Regions from separate parts of the Homo sapiens genome. Here regions 2 and 3 are each linked to region 1. The links are contacts of gene promoters, found by promoter capture Hi-C in blood cells and fetal thymus (Javierre and others, 2016). All regions are on one chromosome and are shown on one strand. Each heading gives the region's core, a stretch centred on a gene start or on the middle of the fragment in contact. The rest is flanking DNA. Distances are from core to core; before and after follow the strand shown.

The links. Contacts are between HindIII fragments. The CHiCAGO score rates a contact against its expected background, and 5 or more counts as called.
Region 2: a fragment that was not itself captured here is called in contact with the fragment with the promoter of EPOR in region 1 in 2 of 17 cell types (total B cells and naive B cells); the score reaches 7.0 in total B cells.
Region 3: a contact is called between the fragment with the promoter of ANGPTL8 here and the fragment with the promoter of EPOR in region 1, in 2 of 17 cell types (neutrophils and M1 macrophages). The highest score is 9.4, in neutrophils.

The regions. Positions count from the first base shown.
Region 1 is chr19:11,382,496-11,386,132 of GRCh38, reverse strand. It overlaps EPOR (erythropoietin receptor), which reads left to right and starts at 1,819. Exons shown (of 8, transcript NM_000121.4): 1 at 1,819-2,040; 2 at 2,901-3,036. The coding sequence starts at 1,926. RefSeq lists a silencer at 2,520-2,579. The HindIII fragment of the contact is 13,821 bases long and covers 1-3,637 here.
Region 2 is chr19:11,586,584-11,590,220 of GRCh38, reverse strand. It overlaps the pseudogene GAPDHP76. Among named protein-coding and RNA genes, the nearest start is that of ZNF627, 9.1 kb to the left of the region's middle. The HindIII fragment of the contact is 6,110 bases long and covers 1-3,637 here.
Region 3 is chr19:11,237,775-11,241,411 of GRCh38, reverse strand. It overlaps ANGPTL8 (angiopoietin like 8), which reads right to left and starts at 1,793. Exons shown (of 4, transcript NM_018687.7): 1 at 1,478-1,793; 2 at 1,116-1,277. The coding sequence starts at 1,774. DOCK6 (dedicator of cytokinesis 6) reads left to right here. Exons shown (of 48, transcript NM_020812.4): 15 at 3,108-3,225; 16 at 3,297-3,367; 17 at 3,633-3,637. RefSeq lists an enhancer at 3,467-3,637. The HindIII fragment of the contact is 20,410 bases long and covers 1-3,637 here.

The DNA of each region.
Region 1 (3,637 bases), core at 570-3,069:
TGTGATCCACCCACCTCGGCCTCCCAAAGTGCTGGGATTACAGGCATGAGCCACTGTGCATGGACTATTTATTTATTTTTTTGAAACAGAGTTTCAATCTTGTTGCACAGCCTGGAGTGCAATGGTGTGATCTCAGCTCACTGCAACCTCTGCCTTCTGGTTTCAAGCAATTCTCCTGCCTCAGCCTCCTGAGTAGCTGGGATTACAGGCACCCACCACCACGCTCGAATATATATATATATTTTTTGAGACGGAGTCCCGCTCTGTCACCAGGCTGGAGTGCAGTGGCACAATATCGGCTCACTGAAACCTCCGGCTCCTGGGTTCAAGCGATTCTCCTGCAGCCTCCCAAGTAGCTGGGATTACAGGCATGCAGCACCACGCCCATCTAATTTTTGTATTTTTGGTAGAGATGGGGTTTTACCATGTTGGCCAGGATGGTCTTGATCTCTTGACCTCGTGATCTGCCCACCTCGGCCTCCCAAAGTGCTGGGATTACAGGCGTGAGCCACCGCGCCCGGCCTACGCCTGGCTAATTTTTGTATTTTTAGTAGAGACGTGGTTTCGCCATGTTGCCCAGGCTGGTCTCGAACTCCTGACCTCATGATCCGCCTGTCTCGGCCTCCCAAAGTGTTGGGATTACAGGTATGAGCCACCGCGCCCAGCCAATTATTATTATTTTTTGAGATGCAGTCTCACTCTGTTGCCCAGGCTGGAGTTGCAGTGGCATGATCTTGGCTCACTGCAATCTTCATCTCCCAGACTGAAGCAGTTCTCATGCCTCAGCCTCCTGAGTAGCTGGGATTACAGGCACACGCCACCACACCTGGCTAATTTTTGTATTTTTAGTAGAGATGGGATTTCACCATGTTGGCCAGGCTGGTCTCAAACTCCTGACCTCAAGTGATTTGCCCACGTCGGCCTCCCAAAGTGCTGGGATTATAGGCGTGAGCCACCGGGCCCAGCCCAAGAGAATAAAAATGTGGGTGGTAAAAATTTTTTTCCCAAAAATTCGTAAATGAAAATCTCACATATTATGCATACTGCCCAGGAGCATGGCCTAGCACTGTGCAAACACTCAACTGCTGGTCGTTGCAAGGATTATTATTGGCCGGCTTCAGTGGCTCGTGCTGGTATTCCCAGCACATTGGGAGATGGAGGCTGGAGGATTGCTTAAGTCCGGGATTTCAAGACCAGCCTGGACAACATAGTGGGATCCCATCTCTACAAAGAATTTTAAAAATTAGCCAGGTGCAGTGGGAAGATTGCTTCAGTCCAGAGGCTGCAGTGAGCTATGATTGTGCCACTGCACTCCAGCCTGGGTGACAGAGCAACACCCTGAGACAGAGAGAGAGAGGGGGAAGGAGGGAAGGAGGGAAGGAAGGAAGGAAGGAAGGAAGGAAGGAAGGAAGGAAGGAAGGAAGGAAAGGAGAGAGAGAGAGAGAGAGAGAGAGAGAGAGAGAGAAAATAATTTTTATTTATTTCCAGGCTGGGAAGAGATGCTGATTTCTGCGATAAAATCAGTAGGTACATTTTTTGGAATGTTCGCTATGTGCCAGGCTAGATTTTACAGATGAGAAGTCTGAAGCTCAGGTAAGGTAAGTCACCTGTCCAGGGCCACAAAGAAAAAAAAAACGTGTGTCTGAAGCCAGAACGGGAGCTGTTGCGGCCCAACTCCCTCCCCTGCCCCCAAGCGGCCTCTGGGCTCGGGAAGGGCCCCTGCCTCCTCCCGCCAGGCACTTATCTCTACCCAGGCTGAGTGCTGGCCCCGCCCCCTCGGGGATCTGCCACTTAGAGGCGCCTGGTCGGGAAGGGCCTGGTCAGCTGCGTCCGGCGGAGGCAGCTGCTGACCCAGCTGTGGACTGTGCCGGGGGCGGGGGACGGAGGGGCAGGAGCCCTGGGCTCCCCGTGGCGGGGGCTGTATCATGGACCACCTCGGGGCGTCCCTCTGGCCCCAGGTCGGCTCCCTTTGTCTCCTGCTCGCTGGGGCCGCCTGGGCGCCCCCGCCTAACCTCCCGGACCCCAAGTTCGAGAGCAAAGGTAAGGATGAGCTGCGTGTGGACCCCTACGCTGGAGCCTGCAGGACCATGCTGGGGCCTGAACTCCCAGCCTAGGTCCTGGGGGCCATGCCTGTTTCTGGACTTCCTGACCGGGTCCTGGGGGCCAAGCTGGCATCTGAACCCTTAGACTGGGTCCTGGATGGGTGGGGGGCGGGGTGGGGTATGTTAGGATCCAAGACTCCTGATCGCGTCCCGGGCAAGAGCTAGAGTGGGCTTAACATTCCCGTTTTACCTTTTCAGGGAGTCTGGGACATGCTAAATCCTAAGGGGGCTGACTTGGTGCTAAGGTCCCTGGGGGGTGGGGACCAAGCCGACCCTCCCTAGGGGAGGGAGGGTAAAGCCCGGGTCCGAGTTAGAGGGGCCAAGCCACAGGCTACTGTAAACACGGTTTGTGTGAGGGCGCCAGATCACTTGCCCGGCCCGGTGGAGGGAGGGAGGCGGGGGGCACGGTTGGCGCTATCGGTTGGCGGGGAGCCTGCCGGGGCCGATAGGGGGCCCGCCTCTCCGCACACACCCCCAGCCGCGCGCGTGTCCTAGGCTGGGGCGGGGCTGGCAGTCCCGAGCTCGAGGTCTTGAACGCCGCGCCCAGCTCAGCTGGCCGCTGGGTGGGCAGGTGTGCGCCAGTGGTGACGGCGGGGGACAGTAAGGCGAGAAACTTGCCCCTGGGAATTAGGGGGGCACCACCTCTGCGGACCCCTCCAAGGGACCCGCTTGGGAAGATGGCAGGGCGGGGCTTTTTTCTTATCGGGTCCGCCCAGGCTGCGGGAGGGAAGAGGAGGGGGCTGTCTCCCGAGGATAGAGCTCAGACCCCCATGCCCTTCCTTTGTCGCCCCTCCCCAGCGGCCTTGCTGGCGGCCCGGGGGCCCGAAGAGCTTCTGTGCTTCACCGAGCGGTTGGAGGACTTGGTGTGTTTCTGGGAGGAAGCGGCGAGCGCTGGGGTGGGCCCGGGCAACTACAGCTTCTCCTACCAGCTCGAGTGAGTCCGATCCGGCGGGTGCCTCCAAGGGCGGAGGGAGGGGGTGGGGCAGAGCTCCCTGGAGGTCGTAGCCTCGTATGTCCCCTGCTGTTTGAGGCCCGACGGCGCCTCCAGTCGTGGTCACTGGAGGGAAACCTGCGGGTCCAGGGCTGGCACGCCCTCTATGGGCCGGGGCGCGAACACTCCCGCGATCACCGCTGGAACGCGACCCCAAACATCAGGCTGGGATAACAACGCCTCCAAATCGAGGGTAAGGCGTTACTACGTCGGGGCTGGGACGCCTTCTCGAGGTAGTATCCAAAAGGAGGCCAGCAGTGGCTCATGCCTGTAATCCCAACTCTTTGGAAGGTCGAGGCGGAAGAACCGCTTGAGCCCAGGAGTTCAAGACCAGCCTGGGCAACACAGCGAGATCCCCGTCTCTTAAAAAAAAATTAGACTGGGCGCGGTGGCTCACGCCTGTAATCCCAGCACTTTGGGAGGCTGAGGCGGGCGGATCACCTGAGGTCGGGAGTTTGAGACCAGCCTGGCCAACATGGAGAAACTCTATCTCTACTAAAAATACAAAATTAGCCGGGCGTGGTGGCGCATGCCTGTGATCCCA
Region 2 (3,637 bases), core at 306-2,805, 200 kb before region 1:
GGTCAGGAGTTTGAGACCAGCCTGGCCAACATGGCAAAATCCCATCTCTACTAAAAATACAAAAGAAACAAAACAAAACAACAACAACAACAACAAAACATATGTATTCCTTCCTGCGGATCATGAATACTGAAATAATTGGGGGTACCGGCTGGGCGTGGTGGCTCACGTCTGTAATCCCAGCACTTTGGGAGGCCGAAGCAGGCAGATGACCTGAAGTCAAGAGTTTGAGACCAGCCTGGCAAACATGGGGAAACCCCGTCTCTACTAAAAATACAAAAAGTAGCTGGGCGTGGTGCCGGGGGCCTGTAATCCCAGCTACTTGGGAGACTGAGACAGGGGAATCGCTTGAACCCGGGAGGCAGAGGCTACAGTGAGCCGAAATTGCGTTACTGCACTTCAGCCTGGACTCCATCTCAAAAAAATAATAAATAATTGAGGATGGTGAACAAAACCTTGGGTGGAGAGAAATGGGTGCCTAGTAATAACGGGATTAGAGGAACGAGTGTCCATTGGTGTTGTTGACTGTGAGGTGGGTCGTTGTGGAGTTCACAGCTGAGGGAGATCTGTGTGGGGCTCCTTCCTGCCCTGGCTATGGCTTACTCCAGCCGGTCCCCGCATCCTCCCGTGCCCGCTGACAGCCTTGCTGCAGGAGGGGCACCAGAACTTCTCAGCCTGCTACTCCCAAGCAGTTCAGCGGTACCCAGGATAGAAGGACCAGGAGCTGGAGTGGATAAGTCAGGTAACCATGGAATCAGTGGGCACCGGCTGGGATGAAAAGGAGGACAGGGGTTAGGTGGGGCTTGGGTGGGGTTTTCCTCCTTGCCATCCAACTGGCTCAGCAATGGCTGAGGCAAGGAAGTCACCATTTGCTTTCACTTGATGGTGGAGACGATGGATGTTTTTACTCTGGGGGCTAGAGCTGGTGGATATCTGAGAGGATGTGGGGAGGGGTTGGGGGAGCATGATGGGGTCTAGAGAGTAACGGGAATGTTTGATCACGAGGATCAAACATTCAAACATTCAAATGATCAAACGTTCAAATCATTGAGGAAAGAGGTGGGAGTTAGGTAATATAAAGACCAACTCCTGGCCGGGCGCGGTGGCTCACGCCTGTAATCCCAGCACTTTGGGAGGCCGAGGCGGGCGGATCAAGAGGTCAGGAGATCGAGAGCAACCTGGCTAACACGGTGAAATCCCGTCTCTACTAAAAATACAAAAAATTAGCCGGGCGTGGTGGCGGGCACCTGTAGTCCCAGCTACTTGGGAGGCTGAGGCAGGAGAATGGCGTGAACCCGGGAGGCGGAGCTTGCAGTGAGCCGAGATAGCGCCACTGCACTCCAGCCTGGGTGACAGACTGAGACTCCATCTCAAAAAAAAAAAAAAAAAAGAAAGAAACCAACTCCTTGGCATGACAGACCCCACCTCACCTCTCCCGATTTGGGATTTTGTTTGTTTGTTTGTTTTGGTGGAATCTCGCTCTGTCGCCCAGGCTGGAGTGCAGTGGCACGATCTTGGCTCACTGCAACCTCCACCCCCTGGGTTCAAGCATTCTCCTGCCTCAGTCTCCCGAGTAGCTGGGCTTACAGGCGCCCGCCACCACACCTGGCTAATTTTTTATATTTTGGTATAGACGAGGTTTCACCATGTTAGGCAGGCTAGTCTCGAACTCCTGGCCTCAAGTGATCCACCCGCCTCGGCCTCCCGAAGTGCTGGGATTACAGGTGTGAGCCACTGAGCCCAGCCCCATTTGAGATTATTGACCCACCTGGAACCTAGCCAGACTGAACTGGTGGCAGCAAACTACAACAGTGAACAGCTACATTTACATCATGCCACCCTCCAAACCACCAGCCTGACCCTCCACAGCTCATCCTGCCCTCCCATTCTCCAGACTGAAAATCAGTCCCTTAGCCTGTGCGAGCCCCACCAAATCCATAATTCCACCTCCCGTGCACTGAGGCAGGCATGGGGGTAGCCAGTCACCAGGACACCTTCACACCCATGCAGCTGAACTGTGCTGACTGATAGCGCCAAGGAGCTCATGGCGAGTGAGGCAGAGCCCCATCCAAGCCAGGGTCCTCTTTCCAGGCTTTTACCCAGTGCCTACTCAGAACTGCCTATAGATCCCCTCCTCTGAGAATCTCACCAGAGCAGACACGGTTTGCAATTTCCTGGGAATCCGGCTGCTCATCATGTTATCCTACAAACATTCCAGTCCCAGCATACCTCACTCATCCCACCCCTGGAATTTTCTCTGGGGCAGTCTCTGGCTGGATCCACTGTAGAATCTGTCCACGCCCTGCACAGGCCTAGTGGCAAGTGGGGGGCTGGAAGGAGCATTAATTTCTTCTCCAAAAGGGAAACTGGGTCTGCGTTCGGTGCTGCAGTTCAGGCTGTGGCCATGCAGGGGCAGCAGTGGACAGATAAAAACGTCTGAAAAAGGCGCTCAGGCTGCGGGAACAGTAGACCATCCCCAGGGACTTCACTGCCCAAGGCATCTGCCTAATTTCTCTCTCCTCTCCTCTGCCTAATTTCTCTCTCCTCTCCTCTCCTCTCCTCTCCTCTCCTCTCCTCTCCTCTCCTCTCCTCTCCTCTCCTCCCCTCCCCTCCCCTCCCCTCCCCTCCCCTCCCCTCCCCTCTTTTCTCTCTCTCTCTCTCTCTCCTTTCTCTCTCTCTCTCTGTCTAATCTGTCTATCTTCTATCCATCCGTCTATCATCTATCTATATTGGAGACAAAGTCTCACCATATTGCCCAGGTTGGTCTCAAACTCCTAGGCTCAAGCAATCTTCCCACCTGAGCCTCCCTAAATGCTGGGATTACAGGCAAGAGTAATTTTCATTTTTTGTTTTTTTTTTGTTTTTTTTTGTTTTTGGTCTAAGTACAGAGGACCTTACTGCTTTATTGATAGGCCCTGTTCTTCAGGGGGTCTGGCATGGAAACTGTGTATGGGGAGATTTTCAGTGTGGTGGGGGGCTGAGTGCAGCAGGGACTCCCAAGCAGCTGAGGGCCTCTCTCTTCCTCTCATACTGTCACTGGGGCTCCTGGTCTGAGGGTCTTACTCCTTGGAGACAGTGTGGACCACCACCTTTTTGCTGAAGCCAAATACATTGTCATGCCAGGAAATGAACTTGACAAAGTGTCATCAAGGGCAATGCTAGCCCCAGCACAGAAGGTGGAAGGATGGGTGTCGCTGTTAAAAGTCAGAGGAGACGGCCAGGCACGGTGGCTCAGGCCTGTAATCCCAGCACTTTCGGAGGCTGAGGCGGGTGGATCACTTGAGTTCAGGATTTTGAGACCAGCCTGGCCAACATGGTGAAACCCCATCCCTACTAAAAATACAAAAAATTAGCTGGGTGTGGCGGTGTGCGCCTGTAATCCCAGCTACTCGGGAGACTGAGGCAGGAGAATTGATTGCTTGAACCCAGGAGGTGGAGGTTGCAGTGAGCCAAGATCGCGCCACTGCACTCCAGCCTGGGAGACAGAACGAGACTCCCTATCAAAAAAATAAATAAATATAATTTAAAAACAAAGGCGGAGGATATAACCTTGTTCTCAATGTAGCCCGGGATGCCCTTGAGGGGGCCCCCCCAATGCCTGTTTCACCACCTTCTTGAGGTCATCATATTTGGCAGG
Region 3 (3,637 bases), core at 544-3,043, 140 kb after region 1:
GCCACCTCACCTCCCATCCCCTGACCCTCTGCCCCAGCCCCTCATTGTATCTGTGTGACCCAGCAAGTCAACAATGCTCTTTGGCCTCAGTTTCCCCATCTGTAAAATGGGGATAAAATAGGACTCACTTCATGGGGAGGTGATGAACATCCTATGGATTTTTTTTTTTTTTTGAGTCTCTCTCTGTCACCCAGGCTGAGTGCAATGACACGATCTCAGCTCACTGCAACCTCCACCTCCCAGGTTCAAGCGATTCTCCTACCTAAGCCTCCTGAGTAGCTGGGACTACAGGCATGTGCCACCACGCCCAGCTAATTTTTTGTATTTTTAGTAGAGACGGGGTTTCACCATGTTGGCCAGGGTGGTCTCGAACTCCTGACCTTAAGTGTTCCACCCACCTTAGCTACCCAAAGTGCTGGGATTACAGGCATGAGCCACCATGCCCGGCCATCATATGGATTATTAAAGGGCATAGAACAGTGCTGGGTACTTACTGGGTGCTCACAAAATGTTACCAGTTTCTCTAGTAGTAAGAATTTATTGGCCAGGTGTAGTGGCTCACACCTGTAATCCCAGCACTTTGGGAAACCGAGGCAGGCAGATCCCTTGAGGTCAGGAGTTCGAGACCAGCCTGGCCAACATGGTGAAATCCCATCTCTACTAAAAAATACAAAAATTAGCTGGTGCACCTGTAATTCCAGCTACTCAGGAGGCTGAGGCAGGAGAATCACTTGAACCTAGGAGGTGGAGGTTGCAGTGAGCCAAGATCACACCACTGCACTCCAGCCTGGGCAACAGTGAGACTCTGTCTCAAAAAAAAAAAAAAAAAGAATTTATTGAGCACCAACTGTGTGCCCGCCCCATGCTGAATATTTTACCTGCATTGAGTACCTGGCCCTACTGTGAGATATCAGGTGTTGCCCTTATTTGCAACTGAGGCACACAAAAGGGAAACTGAGGCACACAAAAGGACTTGAGTTTTGTCTGGGGACATGCAGGGTAGAGGCCACAGAGCTGGGAGGCTGATCTGGGAGGTCTTTGGGACTCAAGGTGCAGAAGCGAGTTCTGGCCGGAAATCAGGGTCTCAGCCCACTAGGGTTGGGGGAGCTCCTTACCTTTAAGACCTCAAATTCTCGGTAGGCAGGGCCCAGCCAGGCGCTCCTCAGCTGGACTTCTAGCCGCTGCACGCTGTCCCGTAGCACCTTCTGTGCCTGGGCCACCTCCCCCAGCACCTCAGCTGTGGCCTCTGCCTGCAGCTGCAGAATATCCTCCTCCATCTGCTTAATAAACAGTGGGTCACTAGTAGGATGTCCAACTCATCTTTGTGTACCTAAGGACTTGCCTGAGTTTATCGCTGAAAATCTTGTATCCCAGGAATCCCTTCAGTCCTGGGCAAACCAGGATGGTTGGTTACCCTAGACACGAACTCCTCTTTGGACTCCTGGCCACCCCACAGTGTCGCAGCTACGGTGCCCACCTGAGTCTCCAACAGGCTTGCCCGAAGTTCCTGGGCTGCATCCCGGCCCCGGCTGACCTCCTGCCCCAGGAGTTCTATTGTGCGGCCATAGAGACCCAGGCTGTTCCTGGCCTTTGTCAGCCGTCCCTCCGTGGTCCTGTACACACCGTTGAGGGCCTGGCCCAGCTGCAGGGTCCCATGGAAGAGCAGGGTCAGCTCCTCATGCTGTGCCAGTTCTGGGCCGCCCATGGGGGCCGCTGAGGCAGGCCGGGTCACCATTGCCAGGGCCCAGAGCAGGCACAGAGCAGGCACTGGCATGACTGAGGGTCTAAGGTATAGCCACAGCACTGTCACTGAAGCCTTTTATGCCTCATACCCCCACTGATCCCCAGTCAATCGTTAACTGGCCGACCTGGTGCCCCGCATTGCACAAGGGCCTGGCAGTGGTGCGATAGTTGCATCAGGCGAATGTCCGGCTAGGCCACGCCGGGATCACGCTTCCTGGGGCTCAGGGCCAGGTGTGGGTGGGGGGCATTGGGAGAGGACGGGCCCCAGACCCTGCTGGGAGTTCCTGAGACTCACCATGCTGAGCCTGTTTCTCCATCTATGAATAGGCATCGCAATGATGATGGTAATAACAGTAAAGATTTTATAAGCATTGATGGTTTGCCCTGAGCTGTTTGACCTGCCATTACAATATCTGCTCTTGTTCCCCTCCCACATACTTGCCACGTGGGGGCTTTTATTGGCCTGGTTAGTATCCAAGGGGGCAGGTGCAGGTGGCAGAGACTCTCCCAAGGTCACACAGCCTGATCTCCAAGACCTGCATATGCCCAGATCACCACTGACTGCCATTTTACTCCGTGGGTGATTGTGCAAGTACCTCAGTTTCCCTGCTTGTAAAATGGCGGTGATGTTAGTCCTGCCTCATGAGCTACTTGTGAGAAGTAAATGAGTTATTTCATGTTGAGTGCTTAGAACAGAGCCTGGCACACAGTAGGCGCGATTATTTCATTGTTGTAGTAATAGTGTTTGGTGCAATTATTGTCATTGTTGTTATTTATCATCATCAGTATCATTACAAAGGCTCAGCTGGAAGGCCTGAAGTGCCCATTATACACATAGGGAAACTGAGGCCCAGAGAGGGGTCAAGGCTTGCACAGAGTTGCCCCTGGGGGAAGGAGGCAGGACTCGGACTCTGGCCTCAGTTTCCCCACCTGAGAAACAGGCCACATAACTCTAGTGACCTCCTGGGGGAAGGGCAGTCAGGCCCTTGGGTGGGGCTTAGGCTTGACCACTGGCCACCTGAGGTACCTTGGAACTCTGGCCCTGAGTGCCTCGCTATTCTCTGCCTTCTGTGTGTCACTGTGCCCCATGAGTGCCTCCAATGTCCTTCTGTATTCCCACCCTCTACCACACTGTTCCCAATCTGTGTTTTTAGGGTGCTCGCTTGTCCCCCACCCTCTGCCCTCTGTCCTATCTCCTGACTGATACCTGTATTACCTCTCACCGGGCCCTCAATGCCCCAGCCTCATGACCTACTCTTCCTGGACTGTCTGTGCTCCCAGCCAGCCTTGTCCCATCACCCCAGCCTTGTATGTGCACCTTCAGGGCCCCTGTCCCTCTGACACCCCCATCCTGCCCCCCACAGGAACCTGCTGTACGTGTACCCGCACAGCCTCAACTTCAGCAGCCGCCAGGGCTCCGTGCGCAACCTTGCTGTGCGAGTGCAGTACATGACAGGCGAGGACCCCAGCCAGGCTCTGCCGGTCAGTGGCTGTGCCCCAGGGAAGGGGGGTAGGGCATCCCCCATGGGTCCCTCATGAATCCACTCTCCCAGGTCATCTTTGGCAAGTCCAGCTGCAGTGAATTTACCCGCGAGGCCTTCACACCGGTGGTCTACCATAACAAGTATGTAGGGGGACACGTGAGGAACTTGGGGGCACTCATGGGGGTAGGAGGATGTCCCTTATATATACACATAAGGCAGCATCGATGGGAAGATGGGGGACAGGAAGAAGAGAGGTAGAGGCTCCCAGAGTGCTAATGAGGGAAGCTGAGGCAGACAGCAGAGACAGTGGGGCCTAGCAGCAATAAGGGCGTGGCATGGCAGAGGTGATGGGGCAGACAGTGGGGACCCCAGCCCCCAGCAGATCCCCCAGCCCGATTCTGCCAGGTCCC